Linked DNA regions of Homo sapiens: regions 2, 3, 4, 5, 6 and 7 are each linked to region 1. The links are contacts of gene promoters, found by promoter capture Hi-C in blood cells and fetal thymus (Javierre and others, 2016). All regions are on one chromosome and are shown on one strand. Each heading gives the region's core, a stretch centred on a gene start or on the middle of the fragment in contact. The rest is flanking DNA. Distances are from core to core; before and after follow the strand shown. Region 1 holds the start of JAG1 (jagged canonical Notch ligand 1). Region 2 has its middle 350 kb from the start of LINC00687. Region 3 has its middle 310 kb from the start of LINC00687. Region 4 overlaps LOC105372529 (a long non-coding RNA gene). Region 5 has its middle 340 kb from the start of LINC00687. Region 6 has its middle 290 kb from the start of LINC00687. Region 7 has its middle 410 kb from the start of LINC00687.

Region 1 (3,558 bases), core at 725-3,224:
CAAGAGCTACACCACTCGGGGGCGGGGGCAGGAAGGGGCCAGCAGCGGGCGGGGGTTCCCAGGTCTACAGCTCCTGTGAGGGCCCCAAGAACCTCCTCCTGCGGCGGCCGCCCCCGGCCCTTAAGCCGAACCTGGAGAGCGCCCCCGCACACACTAAAATCTCCCGGGGAGCAGCGGGAAACGGACTCCCCCACACCCTCCAGGAAGGACACACCCGCCCTCCCGGCCGTTCACGGGAAAGGGGAGGTTGCCAATTTGGACGGCGTTCGCAGGCCAGAACTGCGCCGAGTCGCCTTCCACGGCGCACCAGGTTTAATTAGTTAAGCAAAGAGATCAGCTACAACGATCTCTTGGCTTGGGGCCGGGAGAGTTACTCTGGGAACTTCAAGTTGCAAGTTTACACCGGCCTTCCTAGGAGCCTGGTCCCATAAACCCTCTGGGATCCCCACTTTTGTGCACTAAGCAAATAGCAGCAGGAATGGGACCCACCTCGACTACCCCAGCCGAGATCTAACTATAGTGTCCCGGCTCCCTCACCCGCCACCCCTAGAGATTTCCCCAGTTAGCGCCTAGTTTCAAGCCAAAGCCCTTTAAATCCCTCTCGCAAGGGATAACAGGGCTCGGCCAGGCGCGGGTGTGAGGCTCCGCCCGGCCTCCTTCCCGAGTAGTCACTCACCGGCCAGGCGAAACTGAAAGGCAGCACGATGCGGTTGCGGTCGTTGCCGCGGCTGGCCTTGAGGTTGAAGGTGTTGCCCCCGATGACAGGCGTGGACCCTGAGCCGAAGCTGCAGGGCCCCCCGGCCGTGACGCGGGACTGATACTCCTTGAGGCACACTTTGAAGTATGTGTCACACTCGTCGCGGGTGCACTTGCGGTCTCCCGGGTTCCGGGCGCCGCCGCAGCAGTTCCCGTTCTGCAGCTCCCCGTTCACGTTCTGCATGGACAGGATCTCCAACTCGAACTGACCCGAGGCCCCACACACCTGCCGGCGAGGGAAGGAGGTAGGTCAGCGCGGGAGAAAGCTGTTTTCTTCGAGTATAGAGGTGGCGACTCCCTCCCACTCCCCGCCCCGACGAGCCCTCCTCGCCGAGTGAAAATAATTTTGCGAAACTACGTTCAAGGACTCAACATGATTCCGGGGCAAAAAAAAAAAAAAATGCACGAGTGCGGAAGAAATCCGACGACTTCCCGGGGGGCAACAGCGGAGCGAACGCGCCCCTGTCCGGCCTGGAGGGGTCACCCTCAGGAGGCAGGGGCTCCCGTGGGGGAGTTGGCGCGCTCAGCCCAGGTGCAGCCGCTCGGGCGCAGGGGCGAGGAGTCGGGCGCTCGAGGGCTGCCGAGCCTGCTCGCGGGGCTCAACCGCCCAGGGCGCCGCGAGGGGAGGGAGAGGACGGCTGGGAGGGAGGCCCGGAGAAGGGCTCCTACCTTGGCTCGCAGGGCACAGAGCAGGGCGAGCAGGAGGCTTAGGGGGCGCCCGGACCGGCCGCGCGTCCGTGGGGAACGCATCGCTGCGCCGCGCGCCGCGGGCACTCGGGACGCCGCCGCTGCTGTTCGCGCTGGTGCTGCCGCCGGTGCTGCCGTCGCCGCTGCCCCTGCGGCCGCCGCGTCCCGGCTCTAATATACTCCGCCGATTGGAGCATGCACGACTGGAAAACAACACCACTTTTCAAAAGCCCTTTCAAGAGCGGCCCGTTCCAGAAGGCAAAGAGCCCGGCCTCCTTTTATTATTCTGATCGCTTCTTTGAGACGCTCCCCCTCCTCTTCCACCTCCCGGCTTTCTTTCCTTCTCTCGCGCTCCCCTTCTTTTATTATTATGATTATGCGCAGCCTTTTATTCCCTTTTAGATCAGCTGCATGGAAAAAGGGGGGAGGGAGGGGAGAAAAAAAAAAACCAGCCTAGCTCGCGGGCCGGCCGCAGGTAACACAATGACGCGTGCCCGCCCGGCTCTCGGAGAAGGACCCGGAGAGCCCGTCTGGCAGCAGCGGCCGGGGCTGGCCACCTCTACCCAGCACGCCGGGCAGGGCGCATGCGCGCTTATTAATATTCATGAGAGGGCGTGCTCACCCTGGGCACGCCCCTCCCCTTCACGTTGCTGGGGAGGGGGTAGTGCGAGGAGGAACTTGGAAGGGGTTGGGGGCAGCGGGATGCTCAGGGCGGCGTAGAAGAACCAGGGCCCCACACCAACCCCCGCCCTCGGGAGCTTCGGGCCAGGAGGGAAGGGAGAGTGCGGGGAGGTACTTGGAAGGGATCGTTGCTCAGGGACGCCTGGAGGCCCCCAGCGGGGACCGCCCCCTCGGGCGCCCCGGGCCGTGCGCCTTTGCCCGCGCGTCGGGGCCCCAGGTGTAGGCGCCGCGGCGCTGACTGAGCGGTCGGAGCGGGGCAGCTTCCGCCTTCCGAACCGCCTGCGTCAGCTGCGGCTTTCGCCCCGGGAGGAGGGCCTGCCTGCCCGCCGGGAGTTCGGCCCGCTTCCCGCGAGCGAGCCGCCCAGAGCGCTCTGCTGGCGGCAGAGGCGGCGGCGAGGCTGGCGCGCTTGCCGCCGTCTGCTCGCCCCGCGGAGGCGACCTGGGCAGACGCTGCTGGGAACTTTGAAAAACTTTCCTGGAGCCAGGCTTGCCGCAGATTCGAGGGGAAGCCTCGGCCGCGTCCCACCCCCTCCCAAATCCGAGTCTGCGGAGCCTGGGAGGGCTCCCAGCTTCCTATCCAAACCGCGCCGGGGCAGAGGCGCGGGGAAACCGGGGGTAGAAGGCGGCGGGCACGCCGGGGCCCTGTTCAGGCTTTGGGAAGGGCCGGCGGAGATGCTGGTGGGCTTGGACGCCCTCCCCGGCCCGACGCCCCGGCCGCAGTGCCGGGATTGCACCTGTAGGCGGCCTCCGAGCAGCTCTCTGGGTGGCAAGAGATGGGCCTGGGAGGGACCGTGTCCCCAGCACCGCCAGCCGCGGAACTTGCCTTCTCTGGGGTGGCAGTGGAAACCGATACTGTTTTCCACCTTGAGGCAAGCCTCGCAATTAACAGCTACACTCCTGGTCATAATCAAGGTCGAAGAAAGCCCGTGGGCTGGCCGTAGCCTCTGCTAACCCCTCTCCCACGGGCTTGCTGTTGCATTTGAGGGGACCTTTATATGGAAACATCGACTTCCTTTGAAGGGTGGACAAAGTTTTGGCCCTAATAGTAGGTATGTCCTGCAGAAAAGCGTGACTATTCAGCGGCCGGTTTGGGGCTTGAGTTCTCCTGGGTGTGGGGCGTGATGGGCTGGCAATAGGTCAAGGGAAAATAGTTTCCAACATGCTGAGTTATGAGCATAAAAGGGTGGGTATTTGTGGTTATCTACTTATTGCATTTGATGGGAGGCTCAGTATGAACAATATTTTCAGTGCCAAATCTCATCATTCTGAGGAATAAACTAGGGCAGCTAACTGACCTCTTTACATAGGTTCAAAGCTACCAAGGATGGTTAGGAGTCTTGGCATTTTAACAGCCTAAGAAATGCTCCTAAGAAAAGTGCTTACTTAGTGGTAATGTGTCCCATCTTGAGCACTGGCGGGAGAATCCATGTTTTG
Region 2 (3,668 bases), core at 174-2,673, 840 kb after region 1:
AGCAACCTCAAATGTTGGAGAACTTTTAAATCAGTTATTTTCCAATGAAAAGTATTTCAGATTCAAATTGCCATTCAAGTGTTTCCTGTAGCTCTATACTAAAGCTTAATCGTTTTCAGCTCTAGGTTTTTAGAAGTGGAAAGCATGGTTTTGCTAAGTACAGCAAAGAGTTTCTGAGGACACTGGGAATTCTATACCTGCAGAAATGTAATATCTTCATTGACCAGTGTGCAGGGGAGCCGCAGGAGTAGCAGGATCCCAGACTTTGATGTCAGATGAGCCTTGCTGGGTTCTTGGCAATGGCAACAATTAATCAAGGGAACTTTGGCAGTTTGTTTATCTGTCATATAGTTCTTCATTCATTAAAAATTAGAGATAGAGAGATGGAGGCATGTTAGTATGCACTTTCAATAAGGCACCAAATGAAAATTAGTTGTTGTTGGATAAGATTTTGGCGTATTATCCAATATGTTGTTTGCTCCCAGTCAAGTTACCTATCTTGGCCACGACAGCTGAGGCAGCCATTGTCTTAGGAAGAAGGCAGATCCCCAGCAGAAACAAAAACAGTATTGCCTCCATCGCTCAGGTCTGAGTTTCAAAATAGACAACAGTATGCTATGCTAGTAAGTGTTTAGCTAATAAGCAACTCTTTAAAAAGAAAAAAGGCCATAATTTGTAGCACTTATGATTTCTGTGTTGTAAACATTCCCATCATGTCTGATTTCAGCCTACCAATGTGACATCACTGAACTCAAAGTTGACAGGACATGCACACAGGCCACTGGGCTCGGAGAGTGTTATTTTGGAACTCCCGGAGTTGGATTTTATTTTTTAGTCTTGGAAGAAGAAAGATTCAGGATATAATGTGATACAGTTTCCTGCTACCCAGCAGTGCATGCAAATTTTTCATATGCTGATAGGAGAATTGTGGAGTGATTCAGAGGAGATCAAACTAATAAGTGGCCCAGCCTATATGCCCTTATGATCTGGGTGTGGTGAGATAATGGAAACCTAGGTAGAAAGAAAACTCCAAACGTCTTATCGTGTTTCCTCTTTGAATTTCCTTAGATTAGAATAATTGTGTGCCATTGTTAGGCAGAGAAAAGGCCTAAGGTAAGACTTCTGACTCTCCAAGATCTTCTGGTAGCATGGAGAGGAGCTACAAAAACTTTAAGCCTCCATAGCTAAAGATGCAATATTGACTGGCATGTGGATACAACTCTGGAAGGCCCAGAGACCTCTCTTTTTGTATCTCTTTCTAAGGATCTTGCTAATTTTTTCAGTTCTCTCCTCTGTGTTGTGGGAGCTAGAGTCCTGCAAACAGCACTTCCTAGCCTGCTGTGCCTGCAGAGTTCCCACTTGTATTCCACCAATGAGAAGTGCTTGGTGAGGTTTGATAGGTGGAACAGAAGAATATTTCATTATGTTTCTGTGCCTTTGGGCAGAGTGTACGCCTCAGCAGACAGCAGACATGAGACAGACCCTTAAGAATCACCCATCTTAGTGCTGCAGGTAGATCCCAACTATGGCCAGATTCTACTTTCAGACCTTCTAATAGACACCCTTGTCCAGCAACTGCCTATACACTTCCAGTGATCAGAAACTCAATAGAACTAGAGACAGCCTCTTCTACACTGGACAAATCTAGCTCTTTTTGAAAGAAAATGAAACTTTTGAAAATATTTAATTATTTCTAAATATGTCTTTAAAGGTCACTTTATGCCCACATACTCTGTGTACTCCTTGTATTTAGTTCTGGGTAAGTTGGAAAGGCCTATTGTGATTTATTCATTGTCATTGACTTACAGCATAAGTTATTGTCAAGGTTTAAGAGGAGTCATCCGAAGGTTTAGAATTGAAGCGGCGTTCCTGTCTAGGATAAATACCTGAGTTTCATCATCTCACACCAGGAAAATAGAGGATGCAGACACACAAGAAGTGAGTTTAAGAGCAGAAGCTCAATAGGCAAAAGAATGAAAACGGAGAATAGCTTCCTCTCCTGCAGAGTGAGACATATGGCGGGGATGTGAAGCGGGGGATCTTCTGGTTCTGTGGCGAAATGCCTGGGGTTTTATAGATGAGCTTGAAGAGGCAGTATCTGATTTACATAGGACCCAAAGATTGGTTGGACCAGGTGTACCATTTACATAGTGTGCAAAGCTGGTCACCCCACCCTAATCTTTTATTATGCAGATGGGGTCTCTACCTGGCCGGCGCCATGTTGTCTGTTCCTTACTGTACACGTGGTTGTCAAGAAAAAGGAAAGATGGAGCCACCATGTTGAACATGCCTAGTCCCCAGGTAGCCTTTTCCTATTGACACAGCTGCTGACATTCACCCCTGCAAGGCTTATCTATGTCTGCAGCTCAGTTTCGCAGGCTGCTTTTTGTTAGAAAAGAAATGATTTGGGGGCTGCTTTTTATTAAAAGGAAAACCTTACCAACGACTCTCTTACCCTCACTATCTGCCTAAATAATTTCTTTTTAACTCCCTCCAATATTTTAGACTAATACCATCATTTGCTCCTTCTTTCTTATATTTAGTTATGCAATGCTTATTAAGGCATTGTGCTTACACTGGGGAACCAGTAGTCTCAGGCTTTCAAACAACTTTCGGTCTAACGAGGAGACATACAGGTCAACTAGGACCTAAAATACAGAGAATTAAGTGTTACTACAAAGCTAACACAGGTGTATTGGTAACACATAGAAAAGGCTCTCAACTTAGTCTTAAGGGAATATAGAAAGCTTCCTTCTGTGGTCTTCCAGAAGTATGGGATATGAGAGAAGTGAATAGAAGTTGAATGTAGGGTGGGATGATGGAGCCCTCACAGTTGAAAGCACTTGTTAGAAAAGGGTATGAGCCAAAAAGAATGTAGAACCCTGAGTGAAAAACAGCGTACCCAGCGTGGAAAGCCCCTCAGTGTCTGAAGAGGCCAGAGGAGCCACTCCACCAGTTCATAACTCACCACCCAAGGCCCAGTTGACTGACCAAGGAAAACAAGCGAGCAGGAAATAGATGATAGGCCTTGGCCTACACAGAGTAGTTAGAGGAGAAGTGAAATTTGTTGAAGAGCTGAAAAACTACAAGTGACTAGAAAAACAGCACATAGACTACCAGTAAGTTTAAATTGTGGTTCGACACAGAGTAAGGTAAAGTAGCAGAAAACAATTCCAGGTAATCTGAGAGTAAATTTTTTTCTCAAGGTCTCCCATGTGTTAAAGAGGTCAAATTTTATTAGAGGCACAGATATTTTATGTTGATTAATTATAAATGAATTGAGAACAAAAAAAATGTTATTTTTTTCAGCCATATCCTGTAATATTTTAAATCATTGACCCAACAATAAATAATACCATTGTTCTTCAGCTTTTTCTGACTGCCAAGAAACTCAGATTCGGGCAATTCATTAGGAAAGAAAAGAAAGGAAAAGAAAAGGAAAGGAAAGGAAAAGAAATATACACATATATATATTTTTTGAAGTTCCTATTAAGTCTTTTGTTTATATACTTGGTTTGCCAGAGCTGTACCTCTTTCTTTATAGAGCCTGGGGCCAGCAAGGAAGGTGCCAACTTTCCAACATTAAGGGAGGAGAACTGTAATTCCTGGGTGACAATCCAACTGATTAGTTCAAGAAGATTACTGGAATTCTAAGAACTGAAGAAATG
Region 3 (3,704 bases), core at 78-2,577, 880 kb after region 1:
TTACATAAACCTGGATGTATAACCTATGACACACCTAGGCTATATGGTAGAGTATATTGCTCTTAGGCTACAAACCTGTGCAACATGTTACGTACTGAATACTGTAGGCAATTGTAACATAATGGTAAACATTTGTGTATCTAAACATATCCAAATATAGAAAAGGTACAGTAAGAACACCGTATTATAATCTTATGGGACCACTATCATATGTGTGGTCCATTGTTGACCTAAACTTCATTATGCAGTTCATGACTATACATAAAGATTTTCTTAGGTAGGATGATCAATAGAGAGCAAACTGGACTAGGAGTCAGAGAATCCAGCTATCTTTTTGTATCTGCTTTAAATTGTTTAACGACCAAGACAAAATTACCAAACTTTTAACTTTGTTTAATCAACTTTTGAGAAAATGATTTTTACATTATGATTTCCAACATCTACTTTAGTTCCAAAGTTTTCTGACTCTGGGAGCTTTAATCATACCTCATTGGACCAAATACACATCTGCCTTTGAAAAAAGATTACTAATTAGCATTTACATTAATCAAAGTGTGATCCTTGAATTAGCAATATCAACATCAGCTGGGCATTTATTAGAAATACAAATTATAGGCCCCATCCTAGATCTACTGAATCAGAAACTCTAGGGATGGGGCTCAGCAATTTGTTACCTGTCAAAGTTTGAGACCCATTGATTTATACAAGTCAAAAACAATCGTCATGGTAACAGGAACTGAGTTTTACCGACAAGAGCCAGTAGTCCTCCAAATTACTCAATGTGGTTTGCCAATGGCCACCCAAGAGCTTTTGATTCAGTATATTTGGAACAGCTTCCAGGAATCTATGTTTTAAACAAACAATAGAGAAAATTTCAAGGACCAACTTTAGACAGTGATTACCTAAAGACAGTAACTGAGTTGCTGGTCTGCCCTCCTGGCAGGTGTCACAGAGTGAGTACTCTAGACCTAATTAATGGAGGAAGGAAAAAAAGGATGGGGAGGAGATAAACAGAGCAAGAGACAGAGATGCATGTCATGTCAGTGTCATTTCCTCAAGGCTGGGAAGTCTAGAACAGTATCAGTGCTCCCATTTGTTGCATGTGATTACTACAATATCAACTCTTACTGGAACAAACTACAAAGAGTCCTTGAGAACAAACGTCCTGAGTATTTTTTATGTTCAGTCAATCCTTGGTATCCATGTTTTCTGCATCCCCAGATTCAACTAACTGTACATTGAGAATACTCTGGGAAAAAGAAAATAGAAAATAACAATACAACAATTAAAAAACAATACAAATAAAAAATACTGTATGACAACTATTTGCATAAGATTTACATTGTATTAGATTATTATAAGTAGCCTAGAGATTTAAAGTATACAAGAGGGTGTATATAGGTTACATGCAAACGTGATCTCATTTTATTTAAAAATATTGAGTATGCATAGGTTTTGATATCTGCAGGGTCCTGGAACAAATCCCCCACAGATACCATGAGATGTCTGTATTTTTGCTTAAGTGACAAGATGAAACAAGGCAACACTATAACATCCTACTCACTATGGAGCAAAGGATAGGCTATATTGGGTATATAAACAAGATAAGGGTCAACGAAAAAAAGTGTATAAGCCTCTATTCTCCCTCATCTCACAGAAAGGGACACTATTCCTGAGAATAGCTACTGCACATGCAGTAGGTTTGCATTTTAAGAGAGGAACACTGTTCACCTCATTTCTGCTACTCTATCTTCTTATAGTACAAGTGTGAAAGTGCACATATAATTGAGAAGAAAAAAATTGGAATTTACTCAAGAAAGTATATGAATTTACAGAATGTGATAGTTTTCAAATATGTTCACTAATTGTCATTCCACTTTTTTTCCTTCAACTTTTATTTTAACTCAGGGGTACGTGTGCAGGATGTGCAGGTTTTTTACATAGGTAAACGTGAGCCATGGTGGTTTGTAACACAGTTCATCCTCATCCTGTTAGCTGGGTATTAAGCCCAGCCTCTATTAGCTATTCTTCCTGCTGTTCTCCCTCCCCCCACCTCCCAACAGGCCCTAGTGAGTGTTGTTCCCCCTCATGTGTCCATGTGTTCTCATAATTCAGCTCCCACTTATAAGTGAGAACACACAGTATTTCTGCATCAGTCTGCTGCAGATAACTCCATCCATGTCCCTGCAAAGGACATAATCTCATTCCTTTTTATGGCTGCATAGTGTTCCATGGTGTATATGTACTACATTTTCTTTATTCAGCCTATCATCAATGGGCATTTAGGTTGATTCCAAGTCTTTCCTACTGTGGCTATATCACTCCCCTTTTTTTTTCTTTTTTTTTTTTGAGACGGAGTCTCACTCTGTCGCCCAGGCTGGAGAGCAGTGGCGATCTCGGCTCACTGCAAGCTCCGCCTCCTGGCTTCACACCATTCTCCTGCCTCAGCCTCCGGAGTAGTTGGGACTACAGATGCCCGCCACCACGCCTGGCTAATTTTTTGTATTTTTAGTAGAGACGGGGTTTCACTGTATTAGCCAGGATGGTCTCGATCTCCTGACCTCGTGATCCACCCAAAGTGCTGGGACTACAGGCGTGAGCCACTGTGCCTGGCCGTCACTCCGCTTTTTAAAATGTGAAACTTAAGATCCCTCTTTTTTAATTTCCAGGCTTAGTGGCCCACTCCTATAAAATAGAATGTGGTGGATGATTGCAGAAATTAGGTCACAGAAAGCATTTCCTTCTGTGAAATACTTCTGTGAAAGGCTTGATTGCTTCTGCAGAGATTTTTCACCCATTTGGGGATGCCAGCTCCGATACTGTGGGAAAATGCAGGCAGTCTGTGGGAAGTTTCTTATGGAGAGGTACTGAGGCCACCTGCCAACAATCAGGCACAACCTGCCATCCATGTGAATCAGCCACTTTGGAAGTGGATCTTCCAGCTTCAGTCAGTCTTCAGATAACTAATAACAAGCCTTCAGATGAACTAATATCTATGACTTCTAGGAAAGATGACCACTTGCCTCCGAAAACCTTTGCACAGTTGCAGCAAGTGGGAGGACTCCACAGGAAGCGCTAGAGGTTAGATGTGGGCAAGCTCTGCCGCTGGAGTACAGGCAGTGCCTGGTCCTGCCAAGCCATTGTCAGGCAGTCAGAAAGAGCTCCCAGGATCATTCTAAAAATCTTGCTTATCACTTCACATATAGCAAGCTTCAGTCCCAAGGCAAACACTACCAAACCCTACTACTTTGCCTTGAAACCACCTGAACGTGGCATATGGTCTGAAAAGAAAAGAGAATAAATAGGAAATTTTAGGAATTTATACTGTGGCTGATTCTCTTGTCTCTTTAATTATAGAGGTATTTTATATATCATGTTTGAAGTTGTTTAAAGCAACAAGCTACAAATGGAAGTAAACAATCAAGCCTTAGTCACTCAAAGGCATCACTTGCATTGTTCACAGCAACTTCTTGGCAAGGACATGCCATGCTAGTGGCTCATCAGTGATGGGATAGAGCACAAGCCATCTGAGCATGGAAGATCCACAAGATAGGATGGGCATCCACGAATGTATCCAGAGCAGTGGAAAATTCTCTAGAAATCAGCAATGGTGACGCCTTTGATTGACAACAGCTGTTCAACAGCACAAAGCAAAAACGAAAACAAAAAACAAATAATCTGATCAAAAAATAGGCAGAAGATCT
Region 4 (3,840 bases), core at 1,086-3,585, 730 kb after region 1:
GAAACCTAGAACTCAAGTCAAATTATAAGAAACAGGAGACAAATTCCAATAAGAAACTTTTCATGAAATACTTCAGCAGTACTCTTCACTGCTGTCAAGGTCATCAAAACCAAGAGGAGTCCAAGAAACTGTCACAGACAAAAGAAGTCTAAAGAATATGAAGACTAAATGCAATGTGTTATCCTGAATGGGATCCTAGACCAGAAATAAGACATTAGGTAAAAATTAAGAATATCTGAATAAAGTATGAACTTCAGCTAATAACACTGCATTATTATTGTGCATTCATTTAAACAAATGTACCATGTTAGTATAAGATGTTAACAATAGAAGAAATTGGGTATGAGAAATATGGGAACTCTGCCCTAGCTTTGAAACATTGTTGTAAATCTAAAAATACTCTGAAATAAAAGTTATTTTTAAAAACATAATTCAACAAAGACAGATTTACCAGAGGTAATAAAGAAGACTCAGAAACAAAACAACAGGCATGAGTTATGGTCATAGCTCTGTCTCAGCCAGAAGCTTTTTTTGGTCTCACTCATACGTCTGTGGACTCTGTGAGGAGAGGCAGCTCTGCTGATTTTGGCTGGAATCTATCACATTTTTGGCATTGCCTGGCTATAGGCTGGTCTAGGATGGCCTTATCTGAGACAGTTGGGCTCTGGCCCACCCCTCCTCTTATCTTCTAGCACTGCTGGTCTGGGCTTGTTCACATGGTGTTACATGGGTTAAAAGAGAGAGTGGAAGTACACACGATTCCAAAGGCCTGGAATCACAAATAAAACATTATCACTTCCTCCGCATTCTGTTGGACAAGGCAAGTCACCAAACTAGACTAGACACAAGTAGAGTGGGGTGTGTCAGGGGTTGGGGGGAAGCAGAGTAAGTGAAAAGAGATTCCATTTCCTATAGGAAAGAGTTCCAAAGTCATATTGCAAAGGCATGAAGCATTGGAGACATTTTTGCAGACAAACTACCACACTTTTTTAAGATGAACCAGAATAGGTCAGATTATCTTTTTATGACAATTCTTGATATGCTTTTATTTCTAGGCCATAATTTCTGCCTTGCATTCATACATGTATCAACAAATATTTATGAGTGCCTTAAATGTATTAGGCTCTTTCACCTATCTTCTTAGAACTTACAATTATATATTATAATCAAAAGTGAAATGCTAGATTCCTTTATTTTGGGACATTATTTTTGAACACACTTGGCTAGGAAATAAGCCACAATTTATTTATTTTTTTGTCAATGTTCCTTGAACCATACTAGACATTCTGGTATAAATTCTAACTAGTCTTTCCTTAGGGATAAATATAGAAGAACTTCAGTTACTAACCAACTGACATATGTAACTGTGGGGGCAGAAAAATTTCAACTTCCTCCTCTTAGGGTTCCAGCAGAGCCTAAGAATTAAATTGACATAGATAGATAAAAGCATGCAAATTTATTTAACAAGTTGTATGTGTCATGGGGACCCTCATAAAGAAATAAAGACCTCCCCAAAGCAATTAGAGTATATTACTTATATACCAGATTGAACAAAGAATAGTAAACTGTGAAAATGTGGCTAAACTATGTGGGGGACCGGTAAAGAGGAGTTATTCTAATAAGGTCTGTATAGTATTCTCTCAGTCCCAGCTTCTCATTCTTGAAGACAAACATCTTGCCTTTTCTTCGGGTATAGGGAGAGTGTCTTATACAGGAGTTAAATCTTTTGCTTTTAGGAACAACATGAAGGCCAAAGTCATCTTTTATCACCAGCTGCTATACAAATGTCTTTAACTTAATGAGTCAATAAGCCAAAATAAGGTATTTCAGCCTCTTCATAACATTTGAGCAACAGTACTCAAAGTGTGGACAGACTGTGGACCAGAAGCTTCAGTATTACTTGGGGGCTTGTTAGAAAGGTTAGAATATCAGACCCTAAACCAGTCCTGCTGAATCAGAATCCCTGTGGGTGGAACCCAGGAATTTGCATGTTTTCTAGTTCTCCAGGTAAAGCTGATGAGTAAAAGTTTGTAAACCACTGGTTTATGATCCAGTTTTTCAACGCTTTTTCATCATTAAGAATAAAAGGAGGCCAGCCGGATGCAGTGGCTCACACGTGTAATCCCAGCACTTTGGGAGGCCGAGGAGGGTGGATCACCTGAGGTCAGAAGTTCAATACCAGCCTGGTCAACATGGTGAAATGTCATCTCTACTAAATATACAGAAATTAGCCAGGCGTGGTGGCAGGCGCCTGTAATCCCAGCTACTCGGGAGGCTGAGGCAGGAGAATTGTTTGAACCCGGGAGGTGGGCGTTGCAGTGAGCCAAGATCACACCACTGCACTCCAGCCTGGGCAACAGAGCAAGACTCCATCTCAAAAAAAAAAAAAAAAAAAAGAAGAATAAAAGGAGTTGGGTATTTCTGTATCACCATTAAATGAAGTAGTGACCATGATGCAAAAATATAACTTTATACAAAAGTTATATTTTTGAATTAAAATATTTATTCTTATTCTACTGTATTCTGAATATTAGGCTTTCAATTTATTTAATTCTGCATTACCCCAGTCCAGAACATACTATTCTTTGTTCTGGATATTAGGCAATGGCTTTTGAGCAGAAGAAATAAAGATTAACTTTGACCTTGATATAACACAAAAGTATAAAATTCACCATGGATATTTCTTTTCATGTTATTAATGTTACTCTTTTTAGCTGATTTCTTAGGTTGTTTTATTAATTCTTTGTATTGAAAGATATAATAAAATGGGATTTCATTACCTCAAGCTTTTTCATTTTTGCCCTGATATTCATTCTGTCTCATTGCATTCAGTCAGCCTCATTTTTCCCTCTATCAGCTCTCAACTTTTTGGACTCAGTGTTCGTCCATCCTCACACTTTCCATCTTTCTTTTATCTTTAAACAAACAACTCATTTTAATTGCCTGTGTCTTGATTCTTTTCCTTTTGTTTCATGGATGTCACTTTCTCTCTCTCTCTCTCTCTCTGTCTCTGTCTCTCTCTCTACCAAATCTGACTGCAAAAGCCCTCAGATTTCATGCCCTTGAGTTTGTGGGTGAGCTGACTGTTCAGGAGAATCAAGACAATCTTATTCCAGGTGGTGATTCGGGAATCCAGTCTGCCTGCACCTTTATCTTTGCCATTTTATCATCCATCATGTAGGAAAAGAGAAGAGAGAGCCAGAATGTCTCTCAGTGGACTTTACTGTTTGCATTGAACAATGTCTGGGGTTGTCCCGTGATCCCTGCCTCCAGGCTTCACAATTCTTCCCCCTTGAGTGTGGGAGAGCCGGGGACTTGCTTCTAACCATTAGAACACGGCAAAGGTGAGGAAATGTACATTGTTTCGTGTCATTACATTTCATAAGATGTTGAAACTGCCTTGCTAGAAGACTCTCTGGCTTAGAAGAGGTAAGCTCCCATATCACAAGCTACATATGGAGAGAATTGTACAGCAAGTTGCTGAGGGAGCCTCTAGCTGACAGCCAGCAAGAAACTGAGGCTCACAGTCTGGCAGCTGGCAAGGAACTGAATGCTGCCAACAACCATGTGAACTTGGAGGAGGATCTTGTCTGGGCTTTTCAAGCTAGCACGTTGATTACAGCCCTGTGACTCTGAAGTGGAGGATCCGGTTAAGCTATGGCCAGAATCCTGAACCCCAGAAACTGTGTGATGATACACGCATATTGTTTTCAGCTGCTATGTTTATGGTAATTTGCTGTATAACAATAAATAATCCACGCCCTTAGCCCGGAAGTGCCATGCATCCCTATTATTCACATTTCGCTGACTAGAACTAGACATATGGCCAATTCTTTGCAA
Region 5 (3,564 bases), core at 1,046-3,545, 860 kb after region 1:
CATTCAACTCAGCAATCCTATTACTGGATACATACCCAAAGGAAAATAAATCATTCTACCTAAAAAACACCTGCAGTCATATATTTATCACAGCACTATTCACAATAGCAAAGACGTGGGAACCAACCTAGTGTCTTGTCAGTGGTGGACTGGATAAATAAAAGGTGGTGCATATACATGATGGAATACTATGCAGCCATAAGAAGAATGAAATCAATCCTATACTTTACAGCAACATGGATGCAGCTTGTGGCCATTATCCTAAGTAAATTTATGAAAAAACAGAAAACCAAATACTGCATGTTCTCACTTATAAGTGAAAGCTAAACATTAGTACATGCAGACATAAAGATAGAAACAATAGACACTGGGGACTCCAAAAATAGGGGAGGAAGGGAATGGGGCAAGGGTTGAAGAACTATTTATTGAGTGCTATATTACCTATTTGGGCAATGGGATCAATAGAAGCCCAAATTTCAGCACCACGCAATATACCCAGATAACAAATCTGCTCATGTACCGCTGAATCTAAATTTTTTTTTTAGAAAAGTTGAACATATACTAACTATATAGCCCAGAAACTTCACTCCTCAGTAGCTTCCCAAGAGAAACAATGACTCATCCTCATTCAAAGACTAAAATGTAGAGACATTAATCAAAGACTAAAAGGTGAAGACACCAATGTTTGTAGCAATTTTATTCATTAGTTAAAAATGAGGGAAGTCCATCAACTGGGGATTGGATAAACATCTTGTGGCAAACCCTTCAATGGAATACTATACAGCAATTTAAAGGAAAAGACTACTGATGCATGCATAACATAAATGAATCTCAAAGCTCTTATGCCAAGTGGAAACATTTAGGCACAAAAGTCACGTGTGATTAATGCCCAGAACTGGCAAAATTATTGAGACCTAAAACAGATCAGTGGTGGCCTAGGGCTGGGAATGGGCAATAAGACTGACTGCTAAGGAGCAGGAAGAATGTTTTGGGGTGAGGGAAGGAACTGAAAACCAGATTGCAGGGATGGTGGCTGTGTGACTAAAACTCATGGGACTATACACTTAAAATGAAAAAAAAAAATATGCTATGTAAATTATCACTCAAAATAGATGCTTTACAAAGTTAAAAAAAAGACCTTTGTTCTAAAGGAAAAAAGAGAATATGATTCTGGTAATAACAAAGATACAGGATGGTGGAAGGTTTTCTATTTTACTATTTTTAATAGGATATATTCGAGTGTACTTATAGGTTAGGAAGAAGAAGAAGGAGAAAGAGAATCAAAACGCAGACAACAGAGCAAATAATGGAGAAAATGTGGGGTGGGAACAGGACCCACAAGGCAAATTTTAGAGGTGGAGCTTCAGCACAAGATGCTCCCTCCTCTGCACTGAAAGGGATAACATTGATGAAGTTTTTGTTGTCTTTTCAGTAAAAAAGAAGCAAGGCTACCTACTGCAAGTGACATCAGTGATGAGCAGGTGGATAGGTGAGAATGACATTTGAAATATCCTTGTGGGTTACTGAGAAAGCAAGCAAGCTAGTTGTGTAAAATAACTTTCAAACCAAAATGAAGACTCATTGGAGATTGGAAACCACAATCTGTAGCAACAATGGTCTACAGAGTTAAATGATTTTCTCCAGGGGCATTTATCAGCTACATTTTTTGTAAGGGTATAATGAATGGCTAGATTGATGCTAATTTGCAAGGCCATGAGGATGTTGAAGCAACCAAAAACAGAACATAAACACTGCACTCTAGAGAGGTGGGCTATCAAAGGAAGGAAAGAGTTCACTGAAGAAAAAGAGAAGGGTTGAGGAATTGAATTCTCAGGGTATCCAGAAAACCTATGTATAGGGAGCAAGGGAAAAAAAGAAAAAAAACATGCAGGGATAATTATGGTCAGAAATTGAAAATTGAAATTTAGGATTTCCCAACAAGTGCCCAGGTCTGGAGTATGATCCTGAGAGAGAGTGGCTCAAGGGGTTGAATGGAGATTGTTGGAGTATAATAAGTCAGGAAGCTTTCCACATGGATAACAAAGACAACCAGGATGATTGTTCAGCCTAAAAGGAGTGAAAAGAAAGACAGTAAGTCAGGTACCAATGCTTGAGCAACAATGGAGTACAACAGCTACATGGAGGACCTCAAGGAAGAAATGCTTCCTAAAGGTAGAAGCAAAAGGATCTATAGGTAATAAAAGGCATCAAGACCTTTGTAAACATTTCTCAACCTCCCCTTGTCTCTTGACTCTGCTAGTTATGGTTACCTGGCCAGATCAGCAAAAGAATCAGGTGTCACTAAAAAGCAAGTTGAACAAGATTAAGAATTGCTGCTAAACGAAATTATCATGAGAAATACACTGGAGACGGTGCAATAAAAGAATTCAAGTCAGCCACAAAAGTGTACCTGCCCAAATGCCTAGGGCCAAGACAAAAATCAGGATGGGCACAACAGAAAGCAATCAAGATACCAGGGCCAAATCAAAGAGAGTAGCTCCTTTTAATTCCAATTTTTATGTACATGTATACTTAGGGGAGCTCCCTATTGAATTGGCTGTGTACTACAAGCTTAATGGCGTGATAAATAGAAAGATGCAAAGAGGCAAGAATGGATGAGCAGGGGTCGTTCTGGGCAATGTAAAGGGACCAGTTCAAAGCCTGTTCCAGAATGACTTGGCCCACTAACCGTGGTAGAGAAGACCATTTGGAGTGGTCAAAGCACTGGCCATTGACTGCTCTGCTTTGCATTTGCCTGTGAGCACAGCACAGAAGTCTTTGCAATAGATGGCTCATCCTCATTCTCAGAATGTTTCCTGCCTTACTTTCTTCTCTAACAACAAATGTTCAATGCTTTCCAGCCCCTGTTGTGTGTTACATTAGGGCACCATGAAGACGCTTCTTGTTTATTATCTCTCTCCTCTGTCTTCCTGCTCCTTATTCCCCTTTCTTTAAAGGCAGACTCTTTCTTGGCAATTTTTTTATCTCCAAGCTTGGAGCCCCTCCCTATTTCCTCTGCCTCTTTACTCCTCATATGTACTTTTAACAAATCTATAGGGTGCCTTCAAACTAAGATACTTTAAAAAATAATTGCTACATTCCTCTAATCTTCCTGAGCACAAATTCTAGGCATCAGCTGCCTGACTATACACAGAAAGTTATTTTAGGGTGCAAATTTGGGACCATTGTGAAATTCCAGTGGCCATGCACAGGTTTCCTCACAGCTTTCTGATATTTAAGTTTTTTAGGCAGGATTGTCTGAAGCTGTGTAGCTTAAGGGCCTTTGAGTAATAATTATCATCATGGCTTTACCTCTAATGCCCACTGTAAGAGCAAGATCATCTGAATCTTTCTTTCTATAGAATAGAGAGCACAAAAATAAGCAAACTTGAAGAGCTGTGATCATAAAAGCTAACTAAATACTGCCATGAAACAGCTAGGATTTGGATGCAGAAACAGAGTGCCAGAGAAACACTAAACAAAATGACAAACCACAGTTAGGATCTCAGGAATTGAGAAGATGGACCTGTCTGGCAGCTGAAAACATTGATGTCCATCATTAAT
Region 6 (3,755 bases), core at 907-3,406, 900 kb after region 1:
ACTAATGGTAACCAAAAAGAACATGTTCACAGTCTGTTCAGATATGTGCCAATCTTTCTGTACTCCTCGGTCAAACATACAACAATGTTTCTGCCATGGATGATCAATTTCAGGTCCTATGATATCCCAATAGCAGAGCAAAGTCAAAGAAACCTGACTTATTACTAAGAATATCACTGAGTGCTCTTCAGTCTCTTTCAGCTCAGGGCTTTTCAAACATTAGCACATGTAAGAATTATCTAGAGAGCTTATTAAAAAACACATTCCTGGGCATCAGCCTTATATATTCTCATTCAACAGGTCTTGGGTAGAACCAAGAATGAATTTCTCTACTCCAGAACCAGTTGAGGCTGATGCTACTACACAGTCTCACTTTGAATAACACTGGTCTAGTGGATAACAATAACTTTCTACCTGTAAGTTCAGTTTTGCCAAAGATGGAGGGTCTAGATCTTTAGTAGACATCACTAGAAAGCTTGCTTGAAGTGAAAGCTGCAGAACGCCAACACCAGAAATTCTTGTTTATCTGATAGTTTATGGGAGAAACTTTGAGAATAAGTGCTGGTCTCTAAATCGGTGAATGAGAAGCTTTGATGTATAGGTGAAGCGTTCCTGCTTTTTCCAACGAGGGTCTAGAAAATGTCTGAAGTTATATTACCTCCTGTCTCATAAGCTTGATATTTAGTCCTCTAGTTATATCCTCATCTTTATGACTCAACAAATATTTACTTCATGTCCACATGTACCAGATATTGTTCAAGGCAAAAAGCAAAACAAAACAAAACAGGAAATGTCCATGCACACATCAACTTACAATTCTCTTCCCAATTTCCACTCAGGAAACCCCAGTTAGCCAGGGAACTGCAAACCTCTACCCTCCTGCCTGCAACCCCTTTCCCTAGTATAGATCATAGGGTTAGCTCCCTTGACATCAACCACAGGGCATTATGCTATGATGTAGGCATCCCACCTGAGGACAAAGATTGTCCTGCCTAGAAGTCATAGTCTCATCTCCCACTCTCTTACAAGTGTTGACCCCTTGGAAACAGAGTTCATTAGGCCTCCTTGGACCTGATGATTTGGAATCCTGCCCCTTCAGATGGTAACCACTCCCTTATAAAAGGTTAATTCCAAGCAGTCAGCCCTTCATTCCCATCAAGCATTCCCAGCGTGAGCCTTGACAACTATGGCAATCTCAGACCATATAACCTCACCTGACTCTTCAGATTCCTGCTGTGGTAGAACTGATTCTGTTTCAAGTGGTAAACGACTGGGGGACCAGTAATTGCAGGAAGCAGTGTGAGAAAGAGTAGAAAGAAGTTATGCTTTACAGAGCATCAGAACTACTACCTGAATTTACCACTTAATATCTGTGTGATTGTACACAAGTTTAATGTCTCCATGTCTCATTTTCCCCATCCAGTAGAATTGCTCTGATCATTGATGAGACCAAGTTGGTAAAGTCCCTAGCACAGTGCTTGCTATAAAATAGGGATGGAAATGATTGGTCACTATGGTAATGTTATTGCAAAAGTAACCCAGTATTCCTCCTTTCCCTGTGTCCATGCTCCTGTGCAATGTCACCTGCAGTTCCTCCATTAAGAAGCCAAATCTACTTCTCCAACTCTTGAGTCTGGGCAGGTCTCCAACTTGACTTGGCCAACAGAATGTGGCAAATGTGGCATAAGCCAGTTTCAGGCCTTGGTCTCAAGAAGTCCTGTGTGTTCTGCTCATTCTCTGGGATTCCTGTCCGTATTGCCATATCAATATGAATAAGCCCAAAATATGAATAAAGCCCAAAATATGAATAAGCCCAAAATAGCCTGGTGGATGATACAGACCTCATGAAGCCCACTTGTCTTGTCCAAGTCCTCAGGTATATGAGTGAGCCCAAGTGAAACTGCAAATTGACCTTATTGATTTGCAGCTGAAAACAGAGGCATGAGCCAGCCCAGCTGAAATCAGCTAACTGGGCCTCTACCAGCAGGACCACCAAGCCAACCTATAAACTATTGAAAAATAATAAATGGTTATTGTACTAAGCCATAAAATTTTAGGGTGGTTTCTTATATAGCATTATGGTCGACATAGATAAACTTCACTGTTCTTTTCCCCAATTCCTTCAAATATTTTGTTCAATGTTATACATCAAAAATCAAAACTAAAAACTTCTGTGTCCCTTTTAACTCCTTTCTCTCCCTGTATCCCAACACAAAGCCAGTCAGTCACCAACCGAAAATGACTTGGATTCAAGTGTCCTGCAGATCTCCTGGCAAATTTTCTTCCCTGGGAAAGAAAGCTCTTCCCCATTCGTTTTTCCAGAGAAGCCAGTTACATGAAAAGTTCCTAATACCAGTTTATATCCAGCCTGCCTCGTGGGTTGGACAATTACCTGGAACAGAACTTCTTCTGGGTCAGATCACACAATAGCAATGGTTTCCTACTTCTCACTGAAGCTGCAAAGGTCTTTGGACACAATGTTGTTCAGTACTAAGCCCCTTATTTTGTTTTATTTTGTTTTGTTTAGTTTTGTTTTTAACCAGCTTTCTCAGGTTGAGGAAGGCCCCTGTTTCTGAACTGGACCCTGTCTCATGCAGAGGACTTGGTCTCTATCCCGCCCTTGTCTATTTCTTCCTCCTGTCATGCCCAGTAGCCTGACATCATGACTGTGCTCTTTACCACTATATCACTAACACTGGTTCATTGAAAGTACTTTTAAAACGTGTGTTTGATGGGAAAATAAATAAAAACTGGATAAATTAATATTCTTCCCACTGAAAACATCTTTCTCCCCTTTTCCATCTATTAAAATCAAACAATTTATGTAAAAGGCAGCTTAAGTAACAATCACAATGTATTATTTGCACCTCTCCAGGTGCAGATTACTTTTCTGCGTTTTTAATAGTTTATTGTCTATCTGTCTGATCCTTGAAATATATGGGTTAGTGCAATTAAAATATCGCAAAACCTGCAATTACTTTTACACCAACCTGTAGTATAAATGCTGAATCATATTCTCAAATGAAAATTGTTCCATGTTGAATTGGAGCCATAGTATAGAAACGTCTCTTAACTCTAGGCCGGGCACGGTGGCTCACCCCTGTAATCCCAGCACTTTGGGAGGCCGAGATGGGTGGATCACGAGGTCAGGAGATCAAGAACATCCTGGCTAACATGGTGAAACCCCGTCTCTACTGAAAATACAAAAAATTAGCCGGGCTTGGTGGCGGGCGCCTGTAGTCCCAGCTACTCCGGAGGCTGAGGCAGGAGAATGGCATGAACCCGGAAGGCGGAGCTTGCAGTGAGCCGAGATTGTGCCACTGCACTCCAGCCTGGGCCACAGAGCGAGACTCCGTCTCCAAAAAAAAAAAAAGAAAAAAGAAAAAAAAAAGAAATGTCTCTTAGTTCTAAACAAGGAGGAATAAATATAAAAGGCTAACTAACCTTAATATTCAAAGCACCACAAGGAGCTTGGAGATGTACTGAGCAAAAAGAATGAAAAGATGCCTCAGTCTGCTGTATACAATATAATGCTGTGTAACAAACTATCCCAAATTTAGTGGCTTACAAGACACATTTATTTCCTGTTTATATGTCTTCAGGTCAGCTGAGATTTGGCTGATCTAAGCTGGGCTCAACCAAGCTTAGATTCAAGCTGCAGTTTGGGTCCAGATCTTAACTATAGCTCTCATCCTTCTTAGACCAGTAGTTTCCAGAGGCAGGCTTTCCTCATGATAAAAGGCAGGAGCACAAGA
Region 7 (3,896 bases), core at 760-3,259, 790 kb after region 1:
GCAAGTTGTGAGACAGTGTATATCCTTAGATTTCACAAGCCATAGGTAGAAGAGGCCACCACTGTGTTGGAACCCAATATTCTTTCTCAGCGGTGGGAGCAGGACCACCATGTGTACCATTCTATGGGAGCCATCTACACCACAGGCTGAGTGTCAGCCTTGGGTGGGAGAGACACTTATGTGTACATCATTTACACAAAACGATGGATAATTGCCACATTTCAAGTTACCTATTCCATTTGAAGTTGTGAAAGGTAAATGTTTTCACTTCTAAGAAAACTTTGCCCTTTTCTCTCATTTCAGAGGGAACAACACAGAGACTCAGAAAGGATAATCCACTGTCTCTGGTCCCACAGCAGTTGAACCCAGGTAGATAATCAGATCTGAATTGTTCTGTTTTTTTTGTCAACATGTTTCAGAAAGTTATGGTAGCCACCAACTGAGCTATTTCCTAATCCCCTTCTGCTAGAAGTGCCCCTATGTTTGCTCATTACGGTGTTGACGGTTATTTCACTTCTATACTTAGGGGGCCTTCGGGGATTCTACCGGCGACTTCTCAGAAGCCGTATTTATGCACTACCCAGAAGGAAAGGCCTGCAGTGTCTAAAATAGTTATAAAATGTCTGTGAGATTTGAGTGGGGTCTGCTTTTTTCTCCTTTCTTTTCTTTTTTACTCCCTCTGCCTTGTTTCATTTTATGACCACTCACTGGTAAACTGACGCTGGAACAGCAGGTTGAAATGCCTTTCAAGCGCTTTGATTGCCACCATGAAAACAAACTGCTTTTTGGCCTTGTGTAGACACGATGTCTGAGAATTATTATAGTCAGTCTTTGCTCATGATTCCATGAAACTCTCCAATTCTGCAGCAAGCCCCATATTGCAGCTTTTCCAATTCACAGCCCAGCATACATGCAAGATTCCTTGGAGTATCTTTAAGATTTTGGGTTCTATAAAACAGCTCCCGCTCATAAAAGCACACACAAACTTACCATTGTTGAGTGTTTTTTAAATAGAATCAGGAACGAATCTGTGACCTTGTGGCCCTGAGGTGGGAACACTATCTATAAAGTTGCCCAGACATTCTGCCTGTCAGTAGGACATTTTCATTGAACATAAGTATAAAAAAAGAAGGAGCCAGAATAGGCCAAAATTTTTTACATGCCACAGCTCACTTTATGCATTTTAAACCTTGTTAACATTTGCTAACAAGAAAGTTAAGAACTTTGAGCTATAAAAATAGGAATGTCTTGCTAACTAAATAAATATATGTGTGAACTTTGGGTTCTGCTCCTTGCTCTGGACCGGCTCATGATCATGCAAAAGGAAAAAGAAAAAATTAAAAGGAGCCTAGTTTGGGCTTGTAAAATCTCTAACAAGTCCTTAGAGTTTTCTTCCTTGCATGTTTCTCAGAGTTTCTGTTGATTGCATCTTTTAGCAGAATTGAAATTCACATGAGTCATTCAGTTGCTGATCATCAGTAGAATTGTGAAGATTCTGAAGTGTTTAGATTTACCTTTTAAATATTAGCAAGATCACACTAAGAATGTAGAAACAACAGAGAGAACTAAGTACTGACTGGATGGAAGCTTTAACTTTTGGAAGCAGAGTTGCCTGGGGCATCCTTCTCCATTGTCACTGTTCATCAATTTCCATCTGTGTGTATTTTCTGGGGACTTGTAAACCATTTCCTCTTTTCAGTTTCCTGTTTCCCACTCTAGTCGTCTTCACTTCCTTGTGGTAAACAGCTTCCTTGCTGGGCAGTAAACAGCATTATTGCTTTCTTTAGATTACATCAATTCATGGGCTTTCCCTGAGAAACTGAAGTTGCTTGAGAGTCCTCTCTCTCTGTCTCTGTCTTCATCTAATATGGAAGCTCAAAGAAATATTTAAAAAAAACTATTGAAGGTAATAAGCTAGAGGATAAAAAATGAAAATAAAGTTACAGTGAAACCCAAGACAATTTAGGTGGATGCATCTTTGGTAGAAAATTCCTGTGGTGGCTATGAATTGATTCACTAATAAAATTTAATTTTTTTCAGTGTAAAGTATGTCTCTAAGACCTCACTTCTCTGAGCTGGGAAAACAGTTCAAGCCATAGCAGTGTCAGAGTTCTGGGAGCTTAAGCAGTGCAAAAGCCTTTAATTCACAGACTCTTCTATATACTTTATGTAGACAAAGCAGTTGACGCTTATCGTTCTAGAAGGTAGGTACTATTATGTCTATTCCACAGATGAGAAGACAGACTCAGAGATGTCAAAACTGACCTCCCCAAGGACAAACAGATAATAAATATCTGAGCTAATATTTGAACCCAGGCCTTAGGCTCCAGAGTCCTTGTTTTAAGGCCTCCTCAGGCACTGTGAGAGAGATGGGGGGCTGTCTGGTCTTCATTCATCAGCCCACACAGGATGTGTCTCAGCAGCCCACCTTCTAAGCTTCTGTAATTCCCCTGGCCAGTGTCTCTGCTGTTTCTACGGTATGCTTGGGGTTCCATCAACCCTTTGTGAGGCAGCCTACAATTCCTCCTTAGACACACTCTATGGTTGCTTTTCTCTCTGCGGATCTGCCACCTCCCCACACTGCCGCCTATTGCATTTCACACACAATCTCATCTCTGCCTCCATCTCCTCCTTCTCAAGCCAGGATGGAAGTGGTTCCTAGGTGAGGTCCTTCTTCAGCACTCACTTGTGCTTTATGCTCATGAATCCTCTCACCTTCCAGGCCTTTGGAAATATAATCCAGCCTCCCTCAAAGGCGCTTGCTGGTTTTCATCTGACTTTCTTATGAAGAGACTTTCTTGCAGCAATGCAGGAGTAGAAAGAAGTAGATGGGGGTCTGATGTTTGCATTCCAGCTTCTAGTACTTTCCTCACATAGATATCCTGACTTTGTGGTTCCACAGTCTACCACCAGTGACTCCTACCCTCGATATGTCATCTCCAGTGACGATTTTGTCTAATGATGGGCCAGACCAGAGATTTACTATCTTAGAGCATTGCTCAGCCCTCATTTGCTTTGCCAGCCTGGGGTCTAGAGGGTTGCCACTTAGCAACCAAGCCCCATTTCCTGAATTTGTCACCAGAGTTAAAGGGTTCCCGCACATTTTTGAGGCAGTAGGTGGCTGCCTCCCTCTACTCCATGAAGCTTCCTGAATACAGAGAGGCTTAGAGAGTTATGAAGACTTTTAAAACCTGGGAATAGTCTCAGGCAGCAATGCCTGAATCCCAGGGAAGAGCTGTGTGGCTCTGAGATCTGAGCACAAGTTCCCTAGAAGTAGATCCAGAGAAGGGAATTTGGGTGTATATGATTCCCTGAGGGAAGTCTCTCAGAGGAAAGGGAGAGAGAAAGAAGCAGAGGAATGGAAGGAGCTAGGCAGCAATGTGATCTCAGCTGAAGTCCAGCCTCAGCCTGATCACATGGGAGGCTCTGGGCCATGGATTGTACCAAGTCTGTCTCATATTGAGACAAGGTGCTGGCCTCAACTTCCCCTCATCATTAGCTATAGGATGCCCCAGGTTATGGAATAAACTTCTGGGAAAGTTGGCACTTTTGATCAAGAACCATCCTTCAGGTAAGGATGGGGACAAGCATGAGCAATTCAACACCCACAGTGACTGGAGGAACCACGTACACTGATTTGGCAAAGAGGATTACATGTACACCAAGAGTATTCACTACACAATTCAAAAGACCAGAGCCATCCTTTCACATGAGAGGTCTTTTCCAGAGAGGAGCTTTTGTTGGATTGACTTTATTTCTAGGAAGCTCTAACTCTGGTTCTGACAAGCCTGAGTATTGTGACTTTTTGGTCCTAGAGTGCCCATATTCCATATTGGAGTACTTAGAGAAAGTTATGCAGTCTCAGTATCTTCCACAGAGTAGATATTTAATATGTA

Evidence for each region. The method cuts DNA at HindIII sites, captures the fragments that hold promoters and counts their contacts. A CHiCAGO score of 5 or more calls a contact.
Region 2: a fragment that was not itself captured here is called in contact with the fragment with the promoter of JAG1 in region 1 in 1 of 17 cell types (erythroblasts); the score reaches 5.1 in erythroblasts.
Region 3: a contact is called between a fragment that was not itself captured here and the fragment with the promoter of JAG1 in region 1, in 2 of 17 cell types (erythroblasts and megakaryocytes). The highest score is 5.4, in erythroblasts.
Region 4: a fragment that was not itself captured here is called in contact with the fragment with the promoter of JAG1 in region 1 in 1 of 17 cell types (erythroblasts); the score reaches 5.3 in erythroblasts.
Region 5: a fragment that was not itself captured here is called in contact with the fragment with the promoter of JAG1 in region 1 in 3 of 17 cell types (megakaryocytes, erythroblasts and endothelial precursors); the score reaches 8.4 in megakaryocytes.
Region 6: a fragment that was not itself captured here is called in contact with the fragment with the promoter of JAG1 in region 1 in 1 of 17 cell types (erythroblasts); the score reaches 6.2 in erythroblasts.
Region 7: a fragment that was not itself captured here is called in contact with the fragment with the promoter of JAG1 in region 1 in 2 of 17 cell types (endothelial precursors and erythroblasts); the score reaches 5.7 in endothelial precursors.

The regions. Positions count from the first base shown.
Region 1 is chr20:10,672,025-10,675,582 of GRCh38, forward strand. JAG1 (jagged canonical Notch ligand 1) reads right to left here and starts at 1,975. Exons shown (of 26, transcript NM_000214.3): 1 at 1,426-1,975; 2 at 677-982. The coding sequence starts at 1,506. RefSeq lists a silencer at 2,198-2,597. The HindIII fragment of the contact is 5,598 bases long and covers 1-3,558 here.
Region 2 is chr20:11,515,684-11,519,351 of GRCh38, forward strand. No RefSeq gene overlaps it. Among named protein-coding and RNA genes, the nearest start is that of LINC00687, 350 kb to the right of the region's middle. The HindIII fragment of the contact is 2,643 bases long and covers 103-2,745 here.
Region 3 is chr20:11,555,711-11,559,414 of GRCh38, forward strand. No RefSeq gene overlaps it. Among named protein-coding and RNA genes, the nearest start is that of LINC00687, 310 kb to the right of the region's middle. The HindIII fragment of the contact is 3,761 bases long and covers 1-3,208 here.
Region 4 is chr20:11,403,338-11,407,177 of GRCh38, forward strand. All of the region lies in intron 1 of LOC105372529 (a long non-coding RNA gene), which reads right to left. Among named protein-coding and RNA genes, the nearest start is that of LINC02871, 380 kb to the left of the region's middle. The HindIII fragment of the contact is 898 bases long and covers 1,887-2,784 here.
Region 5 is chr20:11,532,839-11,536,402 of GRCh38, forward strand. No RefSeq gene overlaps it. Among named protein-coding and RNA genes, the nearest start is that of LINC00687, 340 kb to the right of the region's middle. The HindIII fragment of the contact is 547 bases long and covers 2,023-2,569 here.
Region 6 is chr20:11,574,656-11,578,410 of GRCh38, forward strand. No RefSeq gene overlaps it. Among named protein-coding and RNA genes, the nearest start is that of LINC00687, 290 kb to the right of the region's middle. The HindIII fragment of the contact is 2,970 bases long and covers 672-3,641 here.
Region 7 is chr20:11,457,996-11,461,891 of GRCh38, forward strand. No RefSeq gene overlaps it. Among named protein-coding and RNA genes, the nearest start is that of LINC00687, 410 kb to the right of the region's middle. The HindIII fragment of the contact is 849 bases long and covers 1,586-2,434 here.